Regions from separate parts of the Homo sapiens genome. Here regions 1, 3, 4, 5, 6 and 7 are each linked to region 2. The links are contacts of gene promoters, found by promoter capture Hi-C in blood cells and fetal thymus (Javierre and others, 2016). All regions are on one chromosome and are shown on one strand. Each heading gives the region's core, a stretch centred on a gene start or on the middle of the fragment in contact. The rest is flanking DNA. Distances are from core to core; before and after follow the strand shown. Region 1 holds the start of C1orf74 (chromosome 1 open reading frame 74). Region 2 holds the start of RCOR3 (REST corepressor 3). Region 3 holds the start of SERTAD4 (SERTA domain containing 4). Region 4 holds the start of PPP2R5A (protein phosphatase 2 regulatory subunit B'alpha). Region 5 overlaps TRAF3IP3 (TRAF3 interacting protein 3). Region 6 holds the start of PACC1 (proton activated chloride channel 1). Region 7 holds the start of NSL1 (NSL1 component of MIS12 kinetochore complex).

Region 1 (2,776 bases), core at 147-2,646, 1.5 Mb after region 2:
AAACTGGGAGAGCAAGTGTTGGATCTGGGCTGGTCCCTTTCCCATAAAATTAGGTCCCTGGTTGTATGTTCCCATAGCACCCCATACTTCCTCTCTCAGAATAATCATTTCCCTTGTAATGCTCAGCATCCGCATCCTGCTTGACTGCAAACTTGCTGAAGGTAGGGACTGTTTGTCTTGGACTTCGCTGCCAGTCCTTAGAACAGTGTCTGGGACACAGTGTGTTCTCAAATATTTGTTGCTGGAATAAATGAATGAACTAAATCAGTCTTTTAGGGATTTACTGTTAACCACCATGGGAAAATTAAATAAATGCGGGGAAGGAAAACGTTCTAAAATTAGAAGACTACTTTCTACTCTCAGCTTCTGATTCCCTCTGAGCTAAGAACCAGACAGCCTTAGGCTGGTAACTCCTATAAGCTGGTCCTCCTCCCATGCTGACCCCATCTTTACTGTACAATTCACTTTTCATGGACTGAAGGCACCACCAAGATAGATCCAGGAGTGACAACTCCAGTGTAGGTGTCCACTGTTCCCTTAATCTCTGTCCTGCTCCAAGTATAAATAAATTGGGGCCATTTCCTTAGATATTGGGGTTTTCTCAAGAAATCCTTTCCCTTCGTGGCATGGGTCAAATCGCTGGTAGTTAAAAAGGTGTTAACTCTTACGTGAAATAACACTTTTTCTTTGTAATGACCTGACTGGAAAGCCTCTGTGTCATCACTTCTCATTTCTTATTTGAAATCAGCAAACTGGATTCAGTAGACATGAACTTAAGCCCCATGAAAGTGGGGGTTTTGTCTGTTTTGCTCACTGCAGTACCTCCAGGGCCTAGCAGCATGACTGGCACATATTTGTTCAAAGTGAATACTCACACCTTCACACCCTCCCTAGAGAGCTGTTGTAGGCCTCTCAAATGTAGGATTTAGGGAAGTCAAGTTAAAAAAAATTAAAACGTTTCAGCACCACCCACAGGTGAGGCTATTCTGCAAAATATGTTGTCTTGAGGTATGTTTCGTCTGGACAAAACGTATTTCCACAGACACAAATCAAAGGTGTTTATTAACTGCTGTGTGCCCTGTTTCTGGATTCCCAGTCAAGTGGGACACCAGACGTCATAACACAGGGAGGACGTTCGGCGAAGCAAAATGAGGGCAGCAGCGGGAAACCAGTTTCACCAGGTTCCGCCTTTTCTCGTTTACTTCCGCCCTTCCCAGTTCCTAAGCCGACAGATGGGGCCGCGTTCAGTCTGGCCGGAAAGGGCGGGCCGCACGGTGGCCCAAACTTCCGGCGCGCAGTAAGGCTGCCTAGCTAGTGATTCTAACGCGAGGCGCGCGAGCGGCTGGATGACGTCACGGAATGGGGGGAAAGAGGGCGGCACTCGAGTGGGTGCGCATGCGCAAGAAGGTGCCTGCGGGACTGGAGCAGAGCGGGCTGCGAGGGTCTTCCCAGCGCAGGCGGGTTTTCCAGTGTTACTTGCGGCTGGGCGTGGGGGACTAGCTGCCTTTCTGGCAGCAGGCAGGAAGCCGCAAAAAGTTTCTGAGCCCCCGAACCTGTAGCGGACGTGGAAAAAGAACGTATGTGAGACAGACTTATGCCTCATTTAGCAAATCACTATAACATGCTCTGGTGTGGGGTGTGTGGATCGGAGAAATCTCATCTTCCGAGGGTCCTTGATGTCGGACAGAAAGGGAAGGCGGGGCCAGCAGAAGTTAAAATACTACCCTTCTGCAGTTCTAGTGGATTTCATTCATTCATTTTTATGTGTCAGGGTGAGATGGTTGTTAGTCCACATTCTGGTGTATATTAATCAAATTACTATTCTTATAACTATTCTCTGGCGGGAAGAGTAGGGGAGTTGTCAGTGGAAAGGATACATTTGGAACTTGGAGCTCTGTCCCAGAAGGGCTTTTGGGCGAAATGCTGTGAATTTTGCCAAACACTGCCCCGCCTCCGCCTCTGCCCCAAATTCCCTACGGTTTGAACCAGAGAACGTAATTTGCAACAGGTGAAATTTAGAATAAAAGCCAGAGGGAATATAAATCTAGCTATAAGGCTAGAAAAACACACGAATTTATGATTGAGGGAGACCAAGTCAACCAGAAAAATCAAGCAGCATCGGTGAAACTATCTTGTCTGGGCTGGGTCGCCATTTCAAAGCAGGGAGGGACAGAATAACCTTTGGAAGATACCGCGATTTAACAGGAAGGCTGTTAATAATTCCCTGCTCCTGCTTTGTTTCTAGGCCCCTCCTCAAGTGTCTGGCTGAAAGATGCCACCCAGGGAAGGGAACTCGGGCTAGCTAAGGAGGCCATTCTTGATGTTGCTTCTAGATCTCATGTCATCACCGAGCCCTCAGCTGCTGGTGGCAGCTGCTCAGCAGACCCTTGGCATGGGAAAGAGACGGAGTCCACCCCAAGCCATCTGCCTTCACTTAGCTGGAGAGGTGCTGGCTGTGGCCCGGGGACTGAAGCCAGCTGTGCTCTATGATTGCAACTGTGCAGGGGCATCAGAGCTCCAGAGCTATCTGGAGGAGCTGAAGGGGCTTGGCTTCCTGACTTTTGGACTTCACATCCTTGAGATTGGAGAAAACAGCCTGATTGTCAGTCCTGAGCATGTATGTCAGCACTTGGAGCAGGTGCTGCTTGGTACCATAGCCTTTGTGGATGTTTCCAGCTGCCAGCGTCACCCTTCTGTCTGCTCCCTGGACCAGCTTCAGGACTTGAAGGCCCTCGTGGCTGAGATCATCACACATTTGCAGGGGCTGCAGAGGGAC
Region 2 (2,926 bases), core at 125-2,624:
TCTCTCCGCGGCTCCTGCACTCCGCAGAGCTGCCGCGACCAAAGCTACACCACCTAGCCAAAAAGAAAGAAAAGAGACAATCCCGGCTGCGCACAGGTCGGCAGGGCTCGCCCTTGGCTTCCCCGGCCGGTGACAGCCGCCCTGGCCTCTGCCACCCGCCCGACAGAGCGCGGCCCTCGGCGCCGGGGCGAGCGAGGTGGCAATTGACATTTGCACGGTTCGTCCATACAGTCCGCACGCCTGCTCCTCCAGCCCGCGGCCTCGGACCCTGGACTCCGCCAAGGGCCGTCTCCCTCTGCTCACCCCGACCCTGCCCCAGGCTCAAGGGCTAGGAAGGCGATGCCCCCAGCGGGCAAGTGGCCTCCGAAGGGAACCATGTTAACCTTGCAGTGCACACATCTGCCCACACGCCCAGTGTCACAGCCCGGCCAAGCCTGACAGCCTCCCCGCCACGGATGCCTGCCCAGCCCAACCCCGCATCCCCTCCCGGCCCCATGCCCGGACTCCTAGCCCGTCCACCCCAAACCAAGCCCAGGAAAGGGGATATGAGATTTTGCTTAAGCAAATATATCTACCTGGATCAAATTCAGGGATCCGAGCTTGGTATTCGGCTCCGACTCTCATCCCAACATCTGCAAAGCAATGCCAAAAAATATATATAAAAAATAAAAAAGAAGAAAAGAAAGAAAAAGGAAGAGACACTTAAAAAATAAAAATCGCTAGATGGAGGAAAGAAGCGGCGGGTGGATGGGAAGATATCAACTCGGGGCACTCCGGGAGATGGCAGCGGATTGGGGGCGGGGAGCGGGGGGGGGCAAAGGCGGAGGATTGGTCGAGGGCGGAGGGACGGGGGGTCGCGGGGGTGCTGCTGCACTGCACCGGGAGTTCGAGGCTACCGCAGCGCCCAGGCTCTGAGGGGAGGGAGGGCGGGAGAGCGGCGAGGGGAGGGGGCTGGGGGAGGGGAAGAGGGAGGGGGGCAGGCGGGCTGGCGGGGAGGAGTTCGAGGCTACCACCGTGCTCGTCGTCGCTGCTGCAGCCGCTCTCGGGCTCTGAGTAGTGCAGCCCGCCGTTGGTGGACGAGGCGCCGCTGCCGCCGCCGCCTGCCGGGCTCTTGGCGCTGCCGTTGGCCGATCGGTTCTTCCCCAGTAACTCGGGCCCTTTCTCCATCATGCCGGGCATGGTAGAACAGGGGAGGGGGAAAGGTGAGGGGAAGAGGCAGGCGTCAGGGTGAAGGCGGAGATGGCTTAGAGCGCGGGCGGGAGGGAAAGGAGGAGGAGGAGGAGACGGCGGCGGCGGCGGAGGAGGAGGAGGCTGTTAATATGGAGCCGCCATAACCGCCCCGCTCCGGCAGTAGCGCAGTCGCCTCACAACAACCCGCCCCGGCCCCGCCTCTCTCCCCTCCTCCCTCCGCCGCCGCCCGCCCCGCGCAGTCCCGGGCGCCCCTCGGCCGCACCGCGCTCTACGCCGCCGCCGGTATCACTCCGCTCCGCAGGGAGGTTCCGGCCGCCTGGGGGGAGGGGAAGGGGGGAGGGGCGGGGAAACCCCGCTCGCAGGCAGCCGGGCCACCCCAACCAAGCGCTAATAAAATCGCCACCGAGGCGTGGCCGCCGCTCGGGCTTTCTTCCTAGGGGGCGCTCCGGAGCGCGGGCGGGAGATGCACACGAGGGAGCGGGACTCTTTGCCCTCTCTGGGCGGAAGGAACGCGGTCACCCTGAGAAAGGACCGGCGCGACCCGACTGGGCGACCGGGGGGAGCGGCCCCCCCCCTCTGCGGACCGGGCTGCAGGCACGGGCCTGAGCGCGGCGTTCCTCAGATGTCTGGACCCGCAGGCCGCTCAGTTTCCCGGTGTCCGCTGGCAGCCTCGAGCTAGGGGCGCGCTCTGGCCCGCGGTGCAGTCGCGCAGTATAGCAGGGCGGCCTTGGGGCTCTGAGGCCCAACCGGCGAAAGAAGTAGACTCGGCCCTAACCATCTCGACGCTACAATTTTTGTTTCTGGATCTCTGAAGTAGGGCCCAGTTCCCGAGAGAGAGTCTGGGGATGACGGGATGAGTTTCCGGGGCTGAGCGATGCAACTGTTTTTTGCTGAAGCCCCTCTCCCCGATCCTAACCCTACTGTCTTATTCTTACCATCTTTCTTTCCTTTTTTTTCTTCTCTGTTTTAATAGCTGGGGAGTGAGTGCTGTGGAGTGAGGGGGAAATAAGATAAACATGAGACCTGGCCCAGTAGACGCGTTTTCAGTTCTTGCTGACCTGCGGTCTCCGCTTGGAGCGCTGGGGGAGAGGGCGGAGTCCCCCGGCAGAGGTGAAGCGAGAGCTGCTTTCTGGCAGCGTTTCCAGCCTGGAAGGAGTTGTGCTCTGTAATGCTTTTCTGAATTGCATTCGGCGAAAGGAGTAGGAAACTGCGTTTATTCCTTCACCAGATTTGAGGGCATCTGCTGCGTGCCAGGCTGCCTGGCATTGGGGGCTGTTTATGATTTTCTTTTCCTCTTTTTCTGATTTCTTCCCCCCCACTGACGAATAAGTAGAAATAAGTGAGGATTTAACTGTGAGCCTCTAGTATGCAGATGTATGCTGAGCGGTATTGGGGTTCAGCAGATACTCTCCAAACACTTGAAAATACTGTCTTGTAATAATTCTATTATGGGTCAATCCAGAGTGGATCAAACCAGAAATGAACGTCTCTGGCCAGAGCAAACCTTACTGAGAGAAATAATATATCTAACTCAGGAATTGAGCCAAGAAAACCCTGGGAAGTAAATATTTCTGAAGTGAAAAGTCTCCTGTGTGTGTACAAAACTATCTGGTTCTAGTAGTAGAGATAGTCTCATCTCTCTATTAAAGCTTAATGTGATTCCATTAAATATTTGAATCATAAAACTGGACCTTTTATTCTGTTCCTTTTCTCAATAAATGCAGTTCTGAATATT
Region 3 (2,807 bases), core at 292-2,791, 1.0 Mb after region 2:
CTCCGATGCCCGAGCCCTGGTGCCCAAGGTGTGTGTGTGTGTGGCGGTTGCGGGGGTGGGGTCCGAGGTTTGGAGGGCCGACCTCTTGAAGGCGGGCGGCAGCCACCAACCACATCCTGGCTCCCGCACAGACACACCCCCGGGGTGTCGGTGCCGCAGCCCTCAGCCCCTCCCCGGGTAGCCAGCAGCGCCCGGTCGGCCGCTGGCCGCAGGAGAAAGTAAACAACACCCCAAGTGTCCGGGAACAAAGGCAAGTTGTCTTTCTACGGTGCCGCAGCCGTGTGCCTCTTCTGAAGAATAAGAGCTATTATTATTCTTTATGTCTTATCCTTTTTTTTTTTTAAAAAAAAAACCAAGTTTCCTTCTAAGGGAAATAAACACCAAAGGTAGGATTCCAAGGAAATGACTCACAGCGGCTGGCAGGGCTCTGGCGGGGCTGGCCCGGGCCCCCGCGCTCCAGCCCGCAGCAGATGTCGGCCCGGCCTTCCCTCCCTCCCTTGCCGGCCAAACCCGCTGGAAGCCCGCGGTTGCGGGAGCGCCCTGCGCCCGTGGGACCTGGCGGCGAGGACGCCTATTCCCTGCTTCTGCGACCACAGCTGGGCACTCGGAAAGTTGCTAGGGCCGAAGAGGCGGGAGGGGAGGAAGGGAAGCGAGAGGCGGAGGCGTGGACCAGGCGGGCAGCAGCCTCAGCCCGCCGAGGAGGTGAGCTGAGGACAGAGGAGCCGCCGCCGCCCGCAGCGCAGCTCTGCTGCCTGGGAGGAGGGTGCGGGGGCGGAGGTGGCGGGGGACAGAAGGTGTCAGCTACTGCATCAATTCCTTTTTCTTGCAAACGCGCGCTCCTGACATCCACAATCCCTCTCTCCCCACCTGCCAAGCGCCGCGGCATCCGGACCTGGGGGCACCCCTCCTACTTAACCCCTTCCCCTACGATGAGGGACTAAGCGGCCACGGAGGACCATGAGGTCTCACCAGAGCTTCTGACCCCACCCGCCCCTGGAGTTGTCTCGGTGCGCGCGGGTGGCAGCCCGAGCAGCCCTAGAGGAGGCGGCGGTTCCCGCCCTGGTGAAGGCGCCGCGGCGCACGCTAGCCCAGGGAAAAGCCCGCGCCGCCTCCGCGCCCAGCTGTGCCTTGGCCCCCACGCCGCCCCGACTCCGCTCCGGCCGCTGCGAGTCCACTCGGTGACCTCGGCACAGCCCTGGTGCCAAGAGGGCGCGCGGGAGGCCGCGTGGGTGCCCGTCTGCGAGGGCAGGAGCCCCGGGGGGCCCTCGCCCTCCACCCTGCCCGGCCCTCCCGCCCCCGCGGCCCGCGCCCAGCCCGGCTCTTACCGCGGGGTCAGCGGGGAGGCGGCGGCCGCAGCGCTTGAGCTGCTGCTGGTCCGCTCTGGGCTCGGCGCCAGCCCGGCCGCCGGTGCACACTCGCGGGTCCCGGCCCGGCCGCCCGCTCGGCGGTGACTGCGGGTGCGCGGCGGGCAAGGGTCCCGGCAGGTCCCGCCGCCGCGACTGGGGCGCTGCGCCGCCGTCGCTGCAGACGGTTATGGTAATGAGCGGCTCTGTCTAGCGAGGAGCGTGTGAAACCCGTCAATCCTGTTTGCCATTTCCCCGTGGATTTCCGAGGAGAGGTTCTGCAGGATGCCCCCAGGGTGAGAGAGGGAACATGACAAGCGCGCCCGCTCTCCCTCCCTCCCTCTGCTCAGGCCGCCGCCGCCGCTCCTCAGGCTGCACACGGGGCGCCTTTCCCGCACCCCCACCCCAGCCCGCCCCCTGCCTCCTTCCCTGCTTCCCGCCCTCCCTCCTCCTTTTCCTCCCCTCCCCTCCCGGTGCCCGGGGACACGCGGGCCCAGCTCCAGCCCGCAGCCCAGACCCCACGCGCTCTCGGGCTCCCGCCCTAGCCCTGGGGGCTTGGCTCCAGCCGAATAATGTATTCACTCTGGAACCTTCCGAGATATCTTGTCTTTTTAAATTTGGTTTAGTTTTGTTGTTGTTGTGTGTGCGTGTGATTAAAAAAAAAATCTGTGCCTTTCCCACCCTTTGCAAAAGACTTTCTTCTCCTTTGCCACAGCAAACGGAGATGAGAAACAGATGTCTTTGCAGGACCAAACAGTTATTCTCCCTCGCCGCCCGCCCCCGCCCGTTTCCCTCCTGAGCTGCGTACGTATTAAAAAAAAAAAAAAAAGCAACCTTGGTCCTGCTGCAACTTGAATTGGCAACCCTTTCTGGGTGGGGAGCCTCCAGGGAAAACCTCCAGGAAATAAAAAGTAATACAAGAGATTGTCCTTGCTCAAGAGAATGTAATTTAAGCCTTGGAATCAGAATATTTTGCAAATAGTAATTTTCTCCTATAGTGGCCTCAGAGTTTATTTTTTAAAATCATTAATTCATAACTTCTGTCTAGGGACCCCTCCATAGTCGAGATGGGTCATTTCAGGTGTAATGAAGGCAGAGGCTTGGAAGGCATAGACCTAATAAAATCGGGAGAAGGCACCTGCACAAAAGTGTTACAAAGACTATAATGTTTGTTTACTGCCACTATACCAGATGTGCTAAATATAACACTTCTTTAAAACAGTGATCCTCCGACTGTGAAAAACCAGACCTCTGGCTGCCTGGCTCCCTAGGAATCAAGAAGACGCACAGACTGAAAATCAAGGGAGGAAGGAACAAGATCAAGGATGAGGATTAGCATCTGCAAATTGAACTCTATCTAATTTGCATGTTTATTTCTTAGAATTGTAATTAAATTTGTGTAATAAATGTTTTCCATTTCATTTGTACACTTAAAACTTGGGTGACTGACATGCAGTTAAGTGA
Region 4 (2,906 bases), core at 326-2,825, 1.0 Mb before region 2:
CCATGTGTATCGGCTCAGACAACAGAATATTTTAAATCTATTCCTTGAGCTAAAGGATACCATTTAAAGCTAACGATCCTGTGAATAAGATACTACACTGGTCAAATTTTAGGCTTTTTCTTTATAAATACATCCAAAGGCCAGCTAACTCTTAACCGTTGTTTGCATTCGGATTCCTGGTCTGATGACTCTTAGGGGCAATCAATGGGAAGTGAAGTTGAGAAGAAGGTGGGTGCAGACGGCTTTATAACTGTAAAAGTAAAGGACTAGCTAAAAGTGGCCGAACAGAGGAGCTGACACTCGGGAAAGTGAAGGTCGGGGAAGGTTCGTGCGGTTGTTAAAGCAAGACCGGGAAAGGGCAAACCTGGAAGAGGAGTGAAGGACTCTACTTCACGGGACGCAAGATAGGAAGTGCAGGTTAAGCAAGCGCGCAGGTGGGGAAGGGTGTTGGCCTCCCCTAGGATGGAAAGAGTTCAGGTGGGAATTAGAAGGAAACAGCCAAGACTTCACAGAAAACCTGTTTGAATAAGGAGGAGGGCGTGAGGTGACGCCAAGGCATTGTGGGGAACTCGGCTCACACACTACCAGTCCCAACTGAGCAGGAGAAACCCAGCAGGAAATGGCTCTGCTGGCGCAGAGGCAAGCGTTGCCAGCCCCTGCGCTCGCTGCTGGGGCTGCGCCCTCGGAGGTTACCTTTGAGCTGGGGCAGCGGGTGCAGCTCTGCCTGGCTGCCCTGGCTGCGAAACTGCGACGAGCCCTGGGAGCGCTTCTGCCTCTGCGCCTTGCGGACCGATTTCCGGGTGAAGCCGTCCACTTTCTCCGAGGCCGAGATGGCGGCGCTGGCAGCCCCCGCCGGCGGCGACGACGACGACATCTCCGCGGCCCTGACGCTTGGCAGCTCCGGCTGCTGCTTGCAAGGCACGGGCAGCGGCGGAGACGGCAGGAGGAGGCGGGGGAGAGGCGCGGGGTGCTCGCGCCCCTGCGCCCCGGCCCCACGGCCCTCCGGCCCCGGGACGCCGCCGAGCTTCTCCTCGCCGCCCGCCAACGCCTCACGGCCACATCTCAGCGCTGGAGGTTCCTGGTCCCCGGCGCGCGGCGAGCTCCCGGGGCTGACGGAGGGAAGGGCGGGGGCGGAGGGGGGTGAAGAAGTTGTTGACTCTGGGCGCGCAGAGCGGGTGGAAGAGAGCCCGAAGTTTAGACAACTGAGGCGGGGGCACGGGGGTGCGGGTGCCGAGCGCGCCTCTCGTCGCTTCTGCCCCCGTCGCCAGCCAGCCGGCCGGCCAGCACCTCAGCGGCCGCTGCCAGCGCAGCCCGCCCTGCCTGGAGCCTCCTCTCAGGGCGCTGCCATCGCGGGTCCCCTCGGAGCCACTGCCGCGGTGCCCGCTCTTCCCGGTCAACGCCGGCCCCTCATCGCCCGGGGCGCTGCCCCGTAGCCCCGGCCCTCTGCGTGCACACACTCGCTCCTTGCCGCGCTGGGCGGCCCGAACCCCCTCCCCCACGCGCCCGTCGGCCGCCCACGGAGAACCCCAGGCGAGCGACCGCTACAACTTGAGAAGGTGGTTGGTACAGGCGACTGGGGAGTGTGTGCGCGTGTGCGCGCGCCAGGGCGCGCGGCCCGGGGAGGGGCCTCGCAAGGGGTGGGAAGGAGGAGTTTGACTGACAACTTCCGCGGGGTCCCGCCCGCCTCTTGGTGCGGCGGCGGGGGAGGGGGCGGGAAAGCATGCCAGCCCTCTTAGCCAATCACACGGCTAAGCGGCAGCGACGGCGTGAGGTGCGGCCTCTTGAGGCAGAGGAGTGGGGCGGGCTGTGTGACGGGCTTCGGCCACAGCCAATCGTAAGTGAAGACGGCGAGCGGGGTGCCCCTGCGTCAGAACAAATGCGGCAAATCGCTTGGGAGGGAGGGGAAGCGCTCCTCCACCAGCGGGCATTTTTGCGCTCACGCGCGACTGCTCCAGGCTGTCATTGCTCTCCTGACCGTCTACGAGAAGACTGGGAAACTTGAGAGGGTGCGTTCAGAGAGCAAAATAGAGCGCCCCTTCCCTTCCCTCACCTCTCTGCTGGCCAATGAAGAACTGAAGCGATTGGTGGGGCGCCGGAGGGCTGGGGCGCGAAAGAGCGCCAGGTGTTACACCACTGAAAGGGGGCGCAGCAGAGGTCAGGTGGCGAGCAAGCAGTGTGATTGACGGGCGAGGGGCCCGGGGAAGGCGAGAAGGTGAGCTCGTCCAATCGTTGCGAGGTCTGGACACCTGGGCGGGTCTTGGCGCCTTACTGGCCCCAAACCGCAAAATTGGTAGTTGCGGAATAAATTTGTAGCTCTTGGGAGGTTCGGACTCCGCAACTCCAGAGAGCTACTCTCGCGTGGGGTTTGGGCAGTCTAGCATCTGCTGCTTCAAAGAGTTCTGCAAGTCCACGCCCTCTAAAAAGAGATTTCTCATTCCCAATTTAGTATCCTGCTAATTTTCACCCCTCCTTGAGCCAAAGGCCCTCAACTACTCCAACGAGAAGAGTACAAATTCATTGGTCAGTGGTGTGTGGATATGGAGGCTTGCCATGTACTCTTACCGGAATCTCTTTCTTGGAGATTCCGTCTAGATTTTGAATTTCTTAAGGACGAGGACTGGTCATCTTAGTTTTTCGTGCAGTGCTTTCCATACGGTGGCCGTTAATAATTATTAATCTGAACAGTCAGCCTCCCTTTGCGCCAATGGACCCAAATCTGTAATCCCCTCCCTCGAGCTCCAGACCTTTTCCTTTCAACATAATAAAAGTAATTGTCGTATATTTAAACGAAGCCACCTGATGCATATGTACAGAAGATTCCAAATTTGGCAGGAAGTTGAATTCTAGACCTAGAACCAAACATACTATCCTCAAAACATTTCCTCCTTCAGATTTGCTGGGCGGTG
Region 5 (2,732 bases), core at 12-2,511, 1.5 Mb after region 2:
ACTTCTACTGTTTGAGCTTTGAAGTAACTGGTAAAACGGCTGCATTCCACTGTGGCCTGTTCATTGTCAATCCACAGGTCCTGAAATCAACTGGCTCTACACCTACCTCCTCTGGTTCACATCTTCGGTTCCACACATTTGCCTTTGCCCAAACTCTTTCTATGCAGAATGCAATCAAACCTACCAAATTTAAGGTTTATCTTGCTGTATTTTGGGAATATAGCAGGCCTAAGGCAATATTCTTAAAATTTTCCCAGTCTCCTACCCTTTTGGGGTACCTCCTCTCTCCCCATTCCATAGTATGGCTTTAATCCAATATTTTGCCTCTTTCAACTGTTTTTGTATTGGCCCAACCCCAAATTACTTTTCCATTCGTGTTGCAACGGAAGACAATTTACCATAGCCACTTCAGTGGGGATGAAGGGCCACCCAAGTCTGGAGCTTGAATGAAACCTCTTTCCACAGCTCTGCTTTTCTGGACTCCCCAAAACGTCATAAAAGTCGCAGCCAAGTTGTTGCAAATCGGGCATGTAGTTTCCTGGTCTGAGCCCCAGGGTCCCCCACACTGAAGCCCAGTGTTACAGTATGTGGGAAGAAGCACTTTTTACAGGCCTACTGCTGACATTCTAGGCAGTTAGACCCCGGGAGCCGAGGGCTCAGAGGGCATATAAACCCCAGTGAAGAGAGGAGCAAGGCGGAGGCCATACACACCTGGTGCCGGTCTGAGGTCTTCAGCTCCTGCTTCTGCGTGGTTTTCCCCTGCCTCTGATCTGCTCTCCAGAAACACCACCACCTCACCACAGAAGCACCAGCCCACAGCTCATCTCTCTGCTCTAGTAGAGGTTGCTTAGGGCTTCAGCCAATCCCCGCTGCGCTGTCATCTCAAGATCTTAATTCCAGGACGCAGATCTTCAAACCCAAGGCTGCCCTGCTCTCGTTTTTGTATTGCACAATATTGAAAGCTTGCTTTCTCTGCTAGTAGAGCTGTTTCTGCCCTGAAGGTTGGACCCTCCTCAGGAGTCTCAATAGTGCCCCAGAGCCTATGGTATCCAAAAGGCCCAGAGACATCCGGAGGTGAAGCCAGCGGAGGGAGCTGATCCTTGGGATTCTAATAGGGAGTTTGTGGTAAGTTCTCAGCATGTGAAGTTGGAAATTCAAATTTATGAAGGTCAAATGGCAAAAATAAAGGTCTGAACCAGTTCTGGCCACTTTCTTCCAATTATTTTTCCCAGATACCACAGTTTGGGGCTATACTTTTATTGGAGTTGAGGCTTTCATGGAAGAGATAGAGAGTTGAATTACCTTATTTTAGGGGAAACAATAGCTGTTAACTGAAAAAGTCTGAGACTGTTTTTCTTTAAAACTGGAAGCTAGGGGGTTGGTGGGGAGGAGGGACAAAGAAGAGAAGGGTGAGGATTGGGAGGGGTGAGAAGAAGGGAGGGAGGAAACCACAACCAAGGGAACTTCTGCTCTTGGGCTGGAGCATGGGGTGAAACTCCTCCTTGGAGACAAACCCAGAAATGTCTCTTAATATATCCCCCCTCATTCCCACAAAGCTTGCTTTGATTCAAGCTCTGGTTGTGTCTTACCTGGGATATTACAAGAGTCTCAACTCCCCCAACCCCTGCTTGGAGCCAGGGTTCTTATTGCTACAAGTTAGATAATCCTTGAACCCTCCCCCCTCTTTTTTTTTTTTCAAGACAGGGTCTTGCTCTGTTACCCCATGCAGGAGTACAGTGGTGCAGCCTGGACCTCCTGGGCTCAAGCGATCCTCCTGCCTCAGCCTCCCAAGTAGCTGTGACTATAGGTGTGTACCACCATGCATGGCTAATTTTTTTATTTTTAATAGAGATGAGGTCTCACTATGTTGCCCAGGCTGGTCTTGATCACTCAAGTGATCCTTCTGCCTTGGCCCCCCAAAGTGTTGGGATTACAGGTGTGAGACACTGCATCCAGTTGGAAATTACAGAACTTTTTAAGACACAGATCTGATCATTCACAAGTCATTTCCTCAGATAGTAATTGCATACCTTCTAAGGATGAGCCAGACATTGCTAAGTGTAGGACTTTATACCTCAATAAAGCATAGTTCCATTCTTACTCAGCTTATTACCTATAGCAGTGTTTCTCAAGCTGGGTAGCATGCATTCTAAAGGATCTCTGATTTTATATATATACATATATGGGTTTCCTTTAAAAATGGGTCCATGCATTATTCAAGTTTGAGATACCTTGTTCAACAGAAAAAGTTTAAGACCCATAATTCTAAAGACCTGTCTGAGATCCTTTCTTTGGTACTACTCTGGCATACCTTCATTTCAGCCATACTCTGCTATACCCAATTCTTTGCCATACATAGGCCTGTAATCATTCCAATTCCTTTACCTTAAACACTCTTCTACTTTCTGCTTTTTTCCCTCATCATCACTCTTGCTTCTCTACTGGTTAGCTCCTACTCATCCTTCAAGATTCAGCTAAAATGGTTTCTTTCCTTTATTTTTATTTTTTGAGACAGAATCTTGCTCCGTCACCCAGGCTGGAGTGCAGTGGCACAATCTCAGCTCACTGCAACCTCCACCTCCTGGGTTCAAGCAATTCTTGTGTCTCAGCCTCCTGAGTAGCTCGGACTTCAGGCATGCACGATTACGCTCAGCTAATTTTTGTATCTTTAGTAGAGACGGGTTTTCGCCATGTTGGCCAGGCTGGTCTTGAACTCCTGGCCTCAAGTGGTC
Region 6 (2,700 bases), core at 6-2,505, 1.2 Mb before region 2:
ACACAGTAAGGAATTTAATTAGTGGTCTGCTATTGTTAATTTGTTTTGGTAAGCAACTGTTAAATGAAATGGCTGGAATCAGTGTTCCATTCATAAATTTAACAAACATTTGTCGAGTGCCTACAATGTGTTAGGCACTATATATATTGTCCCATATAACAGATTTAAGAGCAGAGGGCCTAGGATAGGGGTGAGTGGTCAGGAGAGGTGATGGGGACCTCCCATTGCTAATGCTCCAGGAGGTCCAGGGTTCTTTGATGTGGCTGGCACTATTCTGCTTATCACTGAGGAGAGAAGAGGCTCCCAGTGGCCTGAGTGGAGGGGTTACCAAGCTGCAGCTGCAAGGGACACAGAGCAGCATTCACCAAGGCACAACAAGCAGCCTCTATCTGCTTCACCACTGAGGAGCCGAGGGCCCTCACACAACAGCTGTTTCAGGCAGTGGGAGGAGAGGAAGATGTGGTCTTCAGGTCCACCCTGCCACAGGGCCAACACCAGATTTGACGCCACATCTAGCGCTTGAGGCTTCTTCTGTGGCTGAACAGCGGCTTTAGGCTTTCTCTGCACGATCCTTCCTTTCTGCTTTCATAGGCCTTGTCAGGCAGGGCAGGGTTTAGCAGTTGCATTCTAAGGCGAGGAGAGGAGGGCTCAGAGCATTGCAAGACCTAAAGGGGAGGGTCAGAGCCAGGACAAGAACCTAGGGGTACTCCTGCCCCTGGAATAATGGAGAGAACATGGGCTCCGCAGTCTACCCCTGGATGAAATAATCTTCATTTGATTACCGCTCCACCCGCATCCTTTCTGAAACAAAGTACCTCAGTTTCCTCATTTGTAAATTAGGGAGAAAAATGTCCTTCTTACAGGGTTCCTTGCAGAATCAACGGCATAATGTGAGTGAGAGCGCTTTGTAACTAACATACAAAGTGCTCTCCAGACATTTATTACCGTTTTAAACCGCCAGGCCAAGCTTCCTCTTGCAATTATAGATTAGGGGCTCCTACTCATCTGACTTTGTTCCACTTTCCACTCCTCTTCTCCGTCCCTCCCCCTCCAACAAAGAGAGGAAGTGAGAGACGCAGAGGCACGCGTCTAAGGACCAGCTTAGCTGGCCCAGGGTCACATGCAGGCCTCCGCCACAGGGGTGAGAGCTGGTGTGAGGGGCGCCCCCGCCCAGAACTACATTTCCCATCAACACTTTCGCGACTCCTGGGCGGCAGCGGCCAGGCGCATGCGCCGAGTATCGCCACGCCTGGTCTCTGGGACGCCCCTCCGGACCGGTTTCGCCTCGCGGAGCCGGTAGGTCCAGGTGCAGCGGCCGCAGTGCTGCGTCCGTGCGCCGCGGGCTGGGGCGGTCTCAGGTGTGCCGAAGCTCTGGTCAGTGCCATGATCCGGCAGGAGCGCTCCACATCCTACCAGGAGGTACGAGGTTGTGAGAGACGGAAGGGAAGTTTGAGGCGGAGGAGCAGGGTCCCGGGGGCCTGGGCGGATGCGGGGCGGGGGGTGTCGGGGCTGCGCGGCAGAGGGCTCTTCCGAGGGACCGACGGGTGCGTCAGGGGAGGGCTCCCGGGGTGCAGAGGAGCGGCCCAGGGGCAGGAAGGAAGCGGGGCAGCGGAGCGGGCGCCCAGCGTTCTCCGTATGCTGCGGGTTGCATGGCCGAGGTCCGGAGTAGGGTCCCCGGCGCCGCGACCCGTAACCAGCAGGTGAATGATTGAAGCTACCTGAGGCCCAGCCTTCCGCGCTCCCCGCCGGAGCGGCAGCCCAATGGCCCAGAGGAACCCGGCGTTCTTTGCAACAAGTGGAGCGCCCGCGCCCTCCTCCCGGCGAGATCTGATGCGCGGTCGGCATCGTCGGCATCCTCCCCCTCCAAGCCCAAGGCCTCGCTGTCCCCGCGGCTGGTGACAGGATTGATTACCTGTTTTTTGGTGACCACCTAACTTTGAAAAAGTGCCTTCATGGACTCTGCTAGTTCTCGCTCCTCTTCGTCTCTCCCTCCAGTCTCACCTCCTCCCACGACTTTATCACTTTCCAGTTCTTTGTCTCTTCTCTGTCCTGCGCTGCAGGCTGTGCGTCCAGCGCTTCCTTCAAGCAAGCCCTGCCTCCTCACTTCTCCAGCTGTATTAGTGAAACTGCTCTCCTCCTCCGCCTCCACTTCTCGGCCCCCAAACCTTGGTCATCTTTGGCAACCGTCCTCTTCTGTGCCCCTCCATCGTGCCGCCTCATTGGCCAAAGTCAGGCAGTTCCAGGTCGGTCCTCCTCCAGTTTGTGTCCCTGTGTTTGCTGTAACCTCTGAGTGCGATACTGTGTTACCATCGCTCCCTTTAGTCTCTTATACTCTCCAGATTTGCCTTGAGGCCCTGCCTTCACCTCGGAGCATTCCTTTTTTCTCAGACCTGACGCTGCCCTTCGTCTGCCCAGAACAGTCCAGACTTCTCAGCAGGCTCCCAAAGCTCTGAACAGCACAGCAGCCATGTCTCCCATTACCTTTGCCACCTCCTAACCCACCTAGGGTCTGGCACAGTGGAAACTCAGTTTTAAAATGTGCTCCTGCCTCTGTGCGTGTGCTCACTCCATTCCTTCATCAACGCTCCGCCAAGCTCCATTGGGTAAAATGCCCCCAGAAGTCAAGGGCTACCTCAAGTTCCATGTGTTCCATAGGGGTCCGCTTTCCAGACCCGTCTGCATTTCTGTCTGTCCTTCTCA
Region 7 (2,825 bases), core at 25-2,524, 1.5 Mb before region 2:
AAATGTGCCAAATTCTAGCTTGTCTGGGGGCCTGCAACCTATCTGTTTCCCTAACCAGCATACACTCACCCCCTTGCTTGGGTGGCTCCTTGTCTTTTCAGCCTTAAGTGTCAGCTCCTGGGAGGATTTCCCCCTGAAATAAAACCCCCCTTAATCCTCTATTATTAGTCTCTAGTTTCCCACGTAATGGGTAAAACAGTTTGTAACTGATTTTACGTGTGTATTATTATTTTAATTGAGACGGGGTCTCACCACATTGCCCAGGCTGGTCTCAAACTCCTGGGCTCAAGCGATCCACCCACTTCGGCCTCTCATAGTGCTAGGATTACAAGTGTGAGCAACCACACTCGGCCATGTATTTTTGTTTGTTTGTTTGCCTCTCTCCCCCATTTGTGAATTTTTTTTTTTTTTTTTTTTTGAGACAGGGTCTCACTGTTACCCAGGCTGGAGTGCAGTGGCTTGATGTCAGCTCACTGCAACCTCCACCTCCTGGGCTCCAGCGATTCTCCCACCTCAGCCTCCCGAGTAGCTGGGACCACAGGCAAACGCCACAATCACCGGCTTTTTTTTTTTTTTTGTAGGGACGAGGTTTCACCATGTTGCCCAGGCTGGTCACGATCTCCTGGACACAGGAGATGCGCAGCGCCCGCCTCGGCCTCCCAAAGTGCTGGGATTACGGGCGTGAGCCCGCGCCCGACCTCTCCCCGATTTGAACGCGTTTCGAGGACCGCTTCCCACAAAGAGTGGCATCTCAGCCAGGAGGTGAGAGCCCCGAGGGGAAAAACAGGCCAGCCAAGGGGAGTGAGGGAACGATTCCAGGAACTCAGAAGAGCAAACAAAAGCCTTGTGGAGATAGCTTACCGCTACTGAATCAGGAAAAAAAAATCGGTATGTCTGAGGTTAAATAGGGAATAGGGAAATGAGGGGCAAGGTCATATGGCCATAAACAAGGGTCTGGGCGGGGGATATGGGGTTTCGTCCCAAGGGAGGAGAGCAAAGATAACACGAGGGGAAAGGACGGGGGCCTCCCTGCTCCCTCTGGTCCCGTATCGCCCTCACATACGCGGTCAAAGTCCGGGGCGGAGAGGTGGCAGTGACAGTCCACCAAGCCTACGCCAGCCGCTCGCATTGCGCCCCGGCGGCTGCCGCTTTAGACCGGCCAGCAGAGCCGGAGCCGGAACGTTTCAGCTGCAGCGTCCTGAGTTTCCAGCCGGATGCATGCTGGTTACACCAGTGTGAACCCGCTTTTCCGCTCCCAGAGTGCCCCGCCCACAGTTCCGACGAAAAATGGCGGGGTCTCCTGAGTTGGTGGTCCTTGACCCTCCATGGGACAAGGAGCTCGCGGCTGGCACAGAGAGCCAGGCCTTGGTCTCCGCCACTCCCCGAGAAGACTTTCGGGTGCGCTGCACCTCGAAGCGGGCTGTGACCGAAATGCTACAACTGTGCGGCCGCTTCGTGCAAAAGCTCGGGGACGCTCTGCCGGAGGAGATTCGGGAGCCCGCTCTGCGAGATGCGCAGTGGGTACGGGACCAGTTAGCCAGTTCTTTACTCATCATCCTCTTACCCAACACCCAGGATCTTAGGATTCAGAAAGATCCCACGCCAGGCCTTGGCAGAATTAACGGTGCCCCAGGCTACTGTAGAACCAGTTCGAGAAACGCTAGAGGAGAAAGAAATAGATGCTAATGTCAGCTGGGTCTTATTAATTACTTAGACCAGCGCTGTCCAGTGAAAATACAAGGCAAGCTAATCTTTATGTAGTTTTAAACTAAAAGTAAGAAATAGGTGAAGTTAATGGAAATAAGACATTTTGTTTAACCCAATAAATCCAAGGTATTTTAACATGTAATAATATCAAATGAATGAGATATTTTACATTCTTTTGTTCGTACTAAGCTTTTCAAATCTGGTGTGCTGCATTTACGGCACATCTTCGAACTAGTTACATTTAAGCGCTCAGTAACTACAAAGTGGCTAGTGGCTCACCTGTTGGACAATGCAGCCGCAGACAATGAGGAATTCTCCTGGAAAGGGTAATTCTGGAAGTCAGCCATTCACCCAAGCAGCATTTGATCTTTCCTTTTGCATGTTTTATTTATTTATTTATTTTATTTTATTTTTTTTTTTTGAGACAGAGTCTCGCTCTGTCGCCCAGGCTGGAGTGCAGTGGCGCGATCTCGGCTCACTGCAAGCTCCGCCTCCTGGGTTCACGCCATTCTCCTGCCTCAGCCTCCTGAGTAGCTGGGACTCCAGGCGCCTGCCACCACGCCCGGCTAATTTTTTTGTGTTTTTAGTAGAGACAGGGTTTCACCGTGTTAGCCAGCATGGTCTCGATCTCCTGACCTCGTGATCCGCCCGCCTTGGGCTCCCAAAGTGCTGGTATTACAGGCGTGAGCCACCTCGCCCGGCCTATTAACCTTTATTTTTACTGTTTGCACTGTGGTCATTCATAACTCACAAATGTGCGGTATTATGAGCTTTTAAATTTTTTCCGCTAATATAAGTAGATTGGTGCCTGTTATAAGGAAGCACACAATCCCTTTATTTCTTGTGTTCCCAAAAAACTACCACCTTCAGGGCTTTGCAAAAATATTTAAGAAAGGCTTGGGAAATGTGGTATAGAGGCAAATGTATGATCTTAGTAAAGTTTTCAACCAACACAATTTTTTTTAACCTATTTTAGTCTTGTAAAGAAAATGTTTTCACTCTAAAACAGGCAAAAGGGGTCGGGCGCGGTGGCTCACGCCTGTAATCCCAGCACTTTGGGAGGCCGAGGCGGGCGGATCACGAGGTCAGGAGATCGAGACCATCCTGGCTAACATGGT

The links. Contacts are between HindIII fragments. The CHiCAGO score rates a contact against its expected background, and 5 or more counts as called.
Region 1: a contact is called between the fragment with the promoter of C1orf74 here and the fragment with the promoter of RCOR3 in region 2, in 4 of 17 cell types (erythroblasts, total B cells, total CD4 T cells and 1 more). The highest score is 5.7, in erythroblasts.
Region 3: the fragment with the promoter of SERTAD4 here is called in contact with the fragment with the promoter of RCOR3 in region 2 in 2 of 17 cell types (endothelial precursors and M1 macrophages); the score reaches 6.1 in endothelial precursors.
Region 4: a contact is called between the fragment with the promoter of PPP2R5A here and the fragment with the promoter of RCOR3 in region 2, in 2 of 17 cell types (naive CD8 T cells and fetal thymus). The highest score is 7.4, in naive CD8 T cells.
Region 5: a contact is called between a fragment that was not itself captured here and the fragment with the promoter of RCOR3 in region 2, in 1 of 17 cell types (fetal thymus). The highest score is 5.7, in fetal thymus.
Region 6: a contact is called between the fragment with the promoter of PACC1 here and the fragment with the promoter of RCOR3 in region 2, in 1 of 17 cell types (fetal thymus). The highest score is 6.4, in fetal thymus.
Region 7: the fragment with the promoter of NSL1 here is called in contact with the fragment with the promoter of RCOR3 in region 2 in 1 of 17 cell types (total B cells); the score reaches 5.1 in total B cells.

What each region holds. Positions count from the first base shown.
Region 1 is chr1:209,783,179-209,785,954 of GRCh38, reverse strand. C1orf74 (chromosome 1 open reading frame 74) reads left to right here and starts at 1,396. Exons shown (of 2, transcript NM_152485.4): 1 at 1,396-1,577; 2 at 2,246-2,776. The coding sequence starts at 2,321. It overlaps IRF6 (interferon regulatory factor 6), which reads left to right. Exons shown (of 9, transcript NM_006147.4): 9 at 1-338. RefSeq lists enhancers at 458-1,073, 1,258-1,517, 1,074-1,691. The HindIII fragment of the contact is 4,418 bases long and covers 1-2,776 here.
Region 2 is chr1:211,257,814-211,260,739 of GRCh38, reverse strand. It overlaps RCOR3 (REST corepressor 3), which reads right to left and starts at 1,374. Exons shown (of 12, transcript NM_001136223.3): 1 at 1,014-1,374; 2 at 576-632. The coding sequence starts at 1,179. It overlaps LOC105372902 (a long non-coding RNA gene), which reads left to right and starts at 1,548. Exons shown (of 2, transcript XR_922552.3): 1 at 1,548-2,004; 2 at 2,165-2,926. RefSeq lists silencers at 796-1,095, 1,166-1,955 and enhancers at 658-1,157, 1,660-2,161, 2,436-2,555. The HindIII fragment of the contact is 7,419 bases long and covers 1-2,842 here.
Region 3 is chr1:210,231,530-210,234,336 of GRCh38, reverse strand. It overlaps SERTAD4 (SERTA domain containing 4), which reads right to left and starts at 1,541. Exons shown (of 4, transcript NM_019605.5): 1 at 1,326-1,541. SERTAD4-AS1 (SERTAD4 antisense RNA 1) reads left to right here and starts at 452. Exons shown (of 2, transcript NR_024337.2): 1 at 452-702; 2 at 2,566-2,807. RefSeq lists an enhancer at 1,130-1,663. The HindIII fragment of the contact is 4,360 bases long and covers 1-2,807 here.
Region 4 is chr1:212,284,079-212,286,984 of GRCh38, reverse strand. It overlaps PPP2R5A (protein phosphatase 2 regulatory subunit B'alpha), which reads right to left and starts at 1,575. Exons shown (of 13, transcript NM_006243.4): 1 at 694-1,575. The coding sequence starts at 874. LINC02608 (long intergenic non-protein coding RNA 2608) reads left to right here and starts at 1,964. Exons shown (of 4, transcript NR_125984.1): 1 at 1,964-2,006. RefSeq lists a silencer at 843-1,812 and an enhancer at 1,983-2,062. The HindIII fragment of the contact is 5,039 bases long and covers 1-2,906 here.
Region 5 is chr1:209,766,640-209,769,371 of GRCh38, reverse strand. The region is part of intron 8 of TRAF3IP3 (TRAF3 interacting protein 3); the gene reads right to left. Among named protein-coding and RNA genes, the nearest start is that of TRAF3IP3, 12 kb to the right of the region's middle. The HindIII fragment of the contact is 594 bases long and covers 965-1,558 here.
Region 6 is chr1:212,413,441-212,416,140 of GRCh38, reverse strand. It overlaps PACC1 (proton activated chloride channel 1), which reads left to right and starts at 1,255. Exons shown (of 8, transcript NM_018252.3): 1 at 1,255-1,419. The coding sequence starts at 1,384. RefSeq lists a silencer at 1,544-1,603. The HindIII fragment of the contact is 5,506 bases long and covers 970-2,700 here.
Region 7 is chr1:212,790,226-212,793,050 of GRCh38, reverse strand. NSL1 (NSL1 component of MIS12 kinetochore complex) reads left to right here and starts at 1,274. Exons shown (of 6, transcript NM_015471.4): 1 at 1,274-1,521. The coding sequence starts at 1,288. TATDN3 (TatD DNase domain containing 3) reads right to left here and starts at 1,157. Exons shown (of 10, transcript NM_001042552.3): 1 at 1,064-1,157. The coding sequence starts at 1,129. RefSeq lists enhancers at 1,069-1,348, 1,823-2,601. The HindIII fragment of the contact is 10,286 bases long and covers 1-1,898 here.